Linked DNA regions of Homo sapiens: all the other regions are linked to region 1. The links are contacts of gene promoters, found by promoter capture Hi-C in blood cells and fetal thymus (Javierre and others, 2016). All regions are on one chromosome and are shown on one strand. Each heading gives the region's core, a stretch centred on a gene start or on the middle of the fragment in contact. The rest is flanking DNA. Distances are from core to core; before and after follow the strand shown.

What was found. The method cuts DNA at HindIII sites, captures the fragments that hold promoters and counts their contacts. A CHiCAGO score of 5 or more calls a contact.
Region 2: a contact is called between a fragment that was not itself captured here and the fragment with the promoter of COLCA1 in region 1, in 2 of 17 cell types (naive B cells and total B cells). The highest score is 9.7, in naive B cells.
Region 3: a fragment that was not itself captured here is called in contact with the fragment with the promoter of COLCA1 in region 1 in 1 of 17 cell types (total B cells); the score reaches 6.4 in total B cells.

What each region holds. Positions count from the first base shown.
Region 1 is chr11:111,303,628-111,306,327 of GRCh38, forward strand. It overlaps COLCA1 (colorectal cancer associated 1), which reads right to left and starts at 1,421. Exons shown (of 2, transcript NR_169237.1): 1 at 1,201-1,421. It overlaps POU2AF3 (POU class 2 homeobox associating factor 3), which reads left to right. Exons shown (of 5, transcript NM_001271458.2): 3 at 1,301-1,355. The HindIII fragment of the contact is 13,879 bases long and covers 1-2,700 here.
Region 2 is chr11:110,450,999-110,453,698 of GRCh38, forward strand. All of the region lies in intron 2 of FDX1 (ferredoxin 1), which reads left to right. Among named protein-coding and RNA genes, the nearest start is that of FDX1, 22 kb to the left of the region's middle. The HindIII fragment of the contact is 3,804 bases long and covers 1-2,700 here.
Region 3 is chr11:110,432,986-110,435,685 of GRCh38, forward strand. All of the region lies in intron 1 of FDX1 (ferredoxin 1), which reads left to right. Among named protein-coding and RNA genes, the nearest start is that of FDX1, 4.4 kb to the left of the region's middle. The HindIII fragment of the contact is 2,203 bases long and covers 350-2,552 here.

The sequences.
Region 1 (2,700 bases), core at 171-2,670:
AGCTCAAGCTGCAGCCAAATATTTGCATAAAGAGCTGGTAAAGGATTCCAGCTTCCTGGTTCATGACATTACAGCATGGATCGTTTTCAAAATTAATACTGCCTCCTGTTTCAGCAGTGGCTGCCTGCACAGCTCTCCCTGTGGCTCAGAGTATGGGAGTGAGTATGCCCTGTAACCCAAAAGAGGTGTGGTGAGCTCGGCTTCCCAGCACAGAATCACAGAGCAATACGGGTACCTTTAAACTTTAAAGCCACACCTGAAATTTAAAAAAAAAAAAAAAATCCTAAATTACTCAGTATAATTATTAATTCAACTGAAAAATGCAGGCTGCTTTACTTTGAATAGTTAAAAAGAGCAGTCTCATAAACTTTTAAGTATTTAAATACAGTAGTTTAAATAAAAGCAACTTTTATAGATAGTAGTACAAAACATACAAAGTACTGGAATAATTCCCGACCATTAACTAGAATGAAAGTAGGTTCCAACTCACCAACCACAGCTTTAAGAAAATATTTTCTATTTTAATATTTCATGTATACTAAGAACATGTGAATATTTTTAGCTACTCAGAATTAACAAAATTAAGAATTGTGTTCTTTGGGGAAACGACTCCCTAAGGCTAAGTAGCCAGATGGTATATGAAATTTTTGAGAAAAATAATTGACTAAGCCATAGATAGTTGAGATTAAATAAATGTTAGTCCTTAATAATTTTAAATCGAATAGTTTAATAGGAAGCCTTTTGCTGCATTTTCTCAAACTGTTACATTTTTACCACATAAAATTATTTACATTAATTTTTTACTAAAAATTAATCACTTTTAAAATTTAAGTAGAAGAATCTGATATTAGGAAAAAAACTCCCCAAGCAAGCAAACATAAATATTGGATCTAGATAAAACATAATATTGGTTGTATTTAAGAAGTCTGTTTTATGATTCGATTTCAGGTTTTCATTGTTCCAATGCAATTTTCCAGATTGAATCTTAAAAGGATTATAAACGTCAAAAGGCATTTTAAATTCTACACGGACTTAATACACCTACCGCAATTCTATGCACCTGTCTTTCAAATTCTATAAAATATTTGTTGACACTTTCCCTTTCACTTGTTTTTTACAATATATTTTGTACAAAAATTTGTCAAACATTGAAAAAAAAAAAGAAAGCAACTTTTTCTGAGAAGGAAGAATCTGGCTTACCTTATAGCAGAAAGAAACATAGTCCTCATCAAAATGTCTTAGCTTTCCCTTCAGAGCATTTCTTTCAGCCTGCTTCACGGTGATATTCTTGCTTTGACAGCGGTCCGGAGGCAGCAGTGTCCACCTTTCAGACCCAGTTGCACCATCTTCTGCAGGTCAGTACAGCCAGCATTAACAGTTCCCTCAAACACTCTTTCAAAAGTCCATCTCAAAAGTCTTTCAGTCTTGATTCAGGGGTTAAGATAGGCACCACCATTTAATTGGAATCCAACCAATCAGAAGGTGAAAAAGGCATAGTCACTCCACATGCAAGCCCAGCAAGAAAACAAGCATAAATGTTGTCTTCATTTCTGAATTCTCTACTCTCTGCTATATTGTCTCAAGAGTTTGTTCTTCACATTTATTCCAGTTCCTCATCGCCAAGTAACTAAACTGAACTACAAAATCAGAATTGTTCTCAGGAACTTATCTTTTTTTAGTGCACTGTTAGATGGAATACAGAACATCCCAAGACACTCAAATAATGCCTTTGCTCTGTTCCTTTAGTTTCCAGCCGACAGGGGCTTCCCTCCCCTTCTCTGTTCCCAGAAAGCAGTTCAAACAAGTGTAGGTTTTCTCAGCCCAATAAGAATAACTCGATTACATAAACACTCCTACCTCTGCTACTCAACAGCTAAGAGTTTAAGGAGGTCGTATATAAGGAAACCTCTGCCTATGGCCTCTCCCCACTAAATGTGTCACCGTAGCTTCACCTTAAAGGAACTTGAGACCTCAAGAAGAACACAGTGTCCTTTAGTCCCTTTGATGAGCACACTCTAATCCTCTCTTCTTCCAGCATTTACAGATAATTATCACAAATTGGGCCTATTAATAATAAAATGGAAAAGGAGTAATGTTTACTGATTATCTTTGTTTGATGTTTAACAACTTACTTTGATCACATCATGATGTTAACATGTTCACTGAGAAAACATTTTTGCTTTTTGTACTTCCGAGCCAATAGTGTTAATTGGTACTCTATGTTCCTGGTTTCCATGATTATCATTTGCATTCTCATTTAAATCACTTCTCAAAATTCTCTCCTCCAAACTTAAGTTACTGAGTAAGAGTGAAAAGTTCAAAAAAGCAATCACCATAAGTCAAAAGAATTATTTCCCGTAGCATCAGAAGTTTTCTCAAAGCCTCAACAACTTTGTCAGTTACTTCTGAGAGGTTTACGTGAACTGCCGGTAGGGGCTGGATGTCCATGGTTTTACAGCCCAAGAAAGGGGAAGTTTGAGCCATTATTTGACTGTGACACTTGGACACAAATTGGGTCACCATCCTTTTATTTTTGCCCTAACCAGTTTTACAGCCAGTTTCCACATTATTAACCATGTTCATTTCCCTGGAGCTTGAATTAGCTAGGACAACTAAAGAGTCAAAATTGCATTCCCGTTTACTTTTCTGGATTTGTTAAGCCCCCTTTCCCCCTAGACATAGTAAATATTCAGAGTATAG
Region 2 (2,700 bases), core at 138-2,637, 850 kb before region 1:
CCATATTGTGATCAGCTGCAAGTTTTAGCCTTGTAGTTGTTGTTTGTTACTTTTATATCCTTTATTCTTTTATAGTTTTATAGGTTATCTTCCACTGTTTATTTTGTAGGGTTCTCTGTGTATATGAAAAGCCAAAAAAAAAAAAGCTCCCCATTTTGTGAATAGCTTTTGTTTCCATAATCTATTTTCAGGTCAGCTGCTTGTTATTTGGAATTTGTTTTCCCATAAAAAATAATGTTGGCTAAATTTTTGAGCCAACACACAGAACCTATTTCTTCACAACTGACTTAATCACCATTTATAGCTTGTTTTTTGGGATAAAATGCATTGCACCTTCTAACTCTTGTAATTGTAGCTGCTGCTGCTTTTCTTCTACTTTTTTAAAGAGACAGGGTCTCATGCCAGTCAGAATGGTGATTATTAAAAAGTCAAGAAACAACAGATGTGGTGAGGTTACAGAGAAATATGAACACTTTTACACTGTTGGTGGGAATGAAAATTAGTTCAACCATTGTGGAAGACAGTGTGGTGATTCCTCCAAGATTTAGAACTGGAAATACAATTTGACCCAGCAATCTCATTACTGGGTATATACCCAAAGGAATATAAATCATTCTGTTATAAAAATACGTGCATGTATATGTTCATTGTAGCACTATTCACAATAGCAAAGACATAGAATCAACCCAAATGCCAATCAATGATAGGCTGGATAAAGAAAATGTACATATACACCATGGAATACTGTGCAGCCGTAGAAGGAACAAGATCATGTCCTTTGCAGGGACATGGATGGAGCTGGAAGCCATTATCCTCAGCAAACTAATGCAGGAACAGAAAACCAAATACCACATGTTCTCACTTACGTATACCACATTTTCTTTATCTCTTTATCACTTGAGAGATATTTGGGTTGTTTCCACCTCTTGGCAATGGCCAATTGGTTTTTGACAAAGGTGCAAAGCAATTAGTGAAGAAAGGGTATTCTTTTCAACAAATGATGTTGAATCAATTGGATATTCATGTGGGAAAAAAAAGGTGCATCAACCTAAACCTCACATCTTATAAAAACATGAATGCAAAATTGACTTAGATCTAAATGTAGAACTTAGAACTGTAAACTCCTAAAAGAAAGAACAAGAAAAAATCTTTAGGACCTGTGGGTAGGTAGGCAGAGAATTCTTAGACATGACTGGAAAAGAATTTATATATAAATTCTTATATATAAGAAAAATAAATTAGAGTTCATCAAAATTAAAAACTTTTGTTCTTCCAAAGACACTGTTAAGGGACTGAAAAGCCAAACTACAGACTGGGAGAAAATACTTGTAAATCACATATCCAGTGAAAGGACTTGTATCCCGGCTATGTAAAAAGCTCTCCAAACTTAACAGTAAGAAAACAACACAATTAAAAAAATGGGCAAAAGATATGAACAGACACTTCACCAAGGAGAATTTAGAGATGGCAAATAAGCTCATAAAAAGATTGAGGGGCATCTGGACCTGAACTTGTATGTGTGAATGAGTTTGTGTTGTTTAGAGTTTCTCCTAGAGGCACAAGAGACTAATGGTGATGTCATACTCCCAAGTGGCTTTGGGAAAAAAATGAGGCAAAGTTAAAAAAAAAAAAAGATATTTTACACCTTTAATTTCTTGGAGAAAATGTGAATGAAAGTCACAATGTGACACCACCAGATACCTACTAGAAACAAACCATGGGACATTCAAACAGTGGAATGCTTCTTAGCAATGAAAGGGAGCAAACTATAGATACATGCAACACATTGGATGAATCTCAAAGGCATTGTGTTGAGTGAAAGAAGCCAGTTTCAGTCAAACACTGTATGATTCTATTTATATGAACATTCTGGAAAAGACTAAACCACAGTGATAGAGAACAGATCAGTGGTTACCAGGGGTTAGGGATGAGGTAGACTGTGACAACAAAGCAACAGCAAAAGGGAATTAAAAGTTTTAGGCTGAGGAAGCTGCTCTGTACCCTCAGTGTGGTGGTGGTTACACAAGTCTATACATACATTAAAACTCATAGAACTGGCCAGGTGCGGTGGCTCACGCCTGTAACCTCAGCACTTTGGGAGGCTGAGGCAGGCAGATCACCTGAGGTCAGGAGTTTGAGACCAGCCTGGACAACATGGTGAAACCCCGTCTCTGCTAAAAATACAAAAATTAGCCAGGCATGGTGGCTCATGCCTGTAATCTCAGCTACTCCAGGAGGCTGAGGCAGGAGAATCACTTGAACCCGGGAGGCGGAGGTTGCCGTGAGCCGAGATCGCACCATTACACTCCAGTCCAGGCAACAAGAGTAAGACTGTCTGAAAAAACAAACAAACACAACAAAACAAAAAGCCTCATAGAACTGAACACTGAAAGAGACAACTAGTAATTGGAGGACATAGCTCTCATGAAATTGGCAATATTTTATGAGATAAAGAAAACAGAAAAGGAGTAACTTTTTTTTTTTTTCTTAAATAGCCTCTTGTTCTTCTTACAGTTTTAGGCTCTTTTTTATACCCAAATATTTACCTTATTTTTGCAGGTTTTTTTTTTTCCTCCTAAATACCCTTTTTGGTTAGGTGTCTCCAATATTCTCTAAAATTCTTTAATTTTTAATAAACCGTATAGGTTAAATCTCAAAACAAACTCTAGAAAACTACTCATCTGTCTTCTTATGGATTTT
Region 3 (2,700 bases), core at 201-2,700, 870 kb before region 1:
GTTGAATTCTACTATGTGTTACGTATTTTGCATACATTGTCAGAACTATAAGATTAATGTTGTCCAATTTTATAGAAGAGGAGGCTGATGTAAGAGATTTCGAATTCCTTTGCTGTAAGCTTAGCTCTAGAGTGCTTCAGAAGAACAGCAACGCTGAAACCTCTGGCTTTCAGTAGTGTGTATAAATGATGGAATTCTTTCTAATGTGCTTCCTGTAGCTTTAGCTACCAGGCATTCGTTGATGTCAAATCTCTAGACTTCTCTGCTGGGCTCAGACCCATACCCATATTGCCATCTGGTGTTTGGACATTCTCATCTGGCTTTTTCATTATTAAATTCAGCAGGTCTAAGCTTCAACTTATTTCTGTCTTCCCCAAAGTTCCTTTGGTTCCTGTCTTAAACCTAGGTTAAATGGTACCACCTAATTGTGTGAGCTGGAAATCCCAATGTTTTTCTTTCCGCTTTTCAGTTTATCTTATGTAGATGGTCACTAAAACCTTTTGGTCTACCTCCTGGATGTCTGTTAAGTCACTGCATTCTCTGTCCCTGATTAGTTTATGCTGTTTTGATAACCTCCAAAGTGGCCTCCCTGCCTCTAGGGTATTTTCATTCTCAGCCATTGTACTTTGAAAAAAATGGCAGTTATTCATGTTGAAAATTATGAATAATATGTGGGAATACTAGTTTTAAAGCATGTTTTGGCTGTGAAAAGAAGTTGGAGAGCGCAGGCCCTTTTGAGGAACATTCTGGTACACACACACACACCCTTTTGATGAGTTTTAATGAATAGAATCCTGTTTTTTTTCCCAGTGTTATAATATTAGGGAGGGCATTATCCCAGTGGGGCTTCAGTTGCCTCATTTGTGAAATGGGATCACTGGACTTGATAACTTTCGAGATAGTTATGGCTCTGAAATTATTTAATTCTGAGTTTTACTTAAAGATTTGTTTGATGGGCTATTGCCATCTACTGGTAGTAATAAGAATAACAACTCATTATTTTAAGTTGAAGAGAATCTTTTCAAGTGTGAGGTAAAAATTAAAATGACCAATGGTGGAGGAATAAGGATCTAGTTTTTAGTATAATGGCTTCTCAAATTTTGGAGGGATGTTTGTGAGAAGTGAAGGAAATTTAAGTCAGCTAGCTGATAGTTAACATACTATCTTAAAAAAACATGTAAGGAGGTATTTATCTTACAGATTCAAACAAATAAACTTTTTCTAGTCCCTTTGATTTGTAAGTATACAATGTGGACTGAAATGAGATGTCAAATACGCAGAAAACTACTAAACAACATCTCTCAGCAGTAGTATTCTATGTAGCACTGGAAAAGCAATCGCCCTATTGATTTTTTTTTTTTTTTTTTTGGAGACAGAGTTTCACTCTGCCACCCGGGCTGGAGTGCAGTGGTTTGATCTCGGCTCACTGCAACCTCTGCCTTCCGGGTTCAAGCGATTCTCCTGCCTCAGCCTCCCGAGTAGCTGGGATTACAGGCATGTACCACCATGCCTAATTTTTGTATTTTTAGTAGAGACGGGGTTTCGCCATGTTGGCCAGGCTGGTCTTGAACTTCTGACCTCAGGTAATCCGCCCGCCTTGGCCTCCCAAAGTGTTGGAATTACAGGCGTGAGTCACCATGCTCGGCCATGATTTGCTTTTTAGAAGCTCACTACAACCCTGGTCTAGTCTTTTATGGACACATTCATGTTTTTCAGAGAGCTGTGTGATGACTTTTTTTGTTTTTTTTTTTTTTTTTTTTTTTGAGACAGGGCCTTGAGCTGTTGCCCAGGTTAGAGTGCAATGGTGTAATCACGGCTCACTGCAGCCCTGAACTTCTGGGATCGGGTGATCCACCTCAGCCCCATGAGTAGCTGGTACTATGGGCAAATACCACCATGCCTTTTATTTTTCATACACCTACAACCATCTCATTTTTATTTTTATTTTTTGTAGCAATAGGGTCTCTCTGTGTTGCTCAGGCTGGTCTCAAACTCCTGGGCTCAAGCAGTCCCCTGCCTCGGCCTCCCAAAGTGCTAGGAGTACAGGTATGAGCCACCACACTTGGCCTTTTCTTTTTTAAATGACAGGGTCTTGCTGTGTTGCCCAGGCTGGAGTGCAGTGGTGCAATCATATCCCATTGCAGCCTCTTCCTCCTCCTGGGCTCAAGGGATCCTCCCGTTTCAGCCTCCCAATTAGCTGGGACTACAGATCACATCACCACACCTGGCTAATTATTTTATTTTTTGTAAAGATGGGATCTTGCCATGTTGCCCAGGCTGGTCTCAAACTTCTGGCGTCAAACAATCTTCCCACTTCAGCTTCTCGAAGTACTGGGGTTACAGGTGCAAGCTACTGCACTGGCTTGTATGAGAGTAAAATAGAGTTCATGAGTGATAATAATTGCCAAATGTTTTATAACTGTGACTATTAGGGAGACATATACTGAGGCCACCAGGTGGCGTTGACCAGGTAGTCATTGCCATTTCCTGTAAGGTAGTAGAGCTTATTACCTGGTAGGTGGGTAGATATATATGCCTTTGATTTCCAAATAAGCTTTGGAAAGAAAAGAAAATACCTTCGGCTAGGCATGGTGGCTCAGGCCTGTAATCTCAGAGTTTTAGGAGGCCAAGTTGAGAAGATGGCTTGAGGCCAGGAATTTGAGACCAGCTTGAGCAACATGGTGGCACCCCGTCACTACA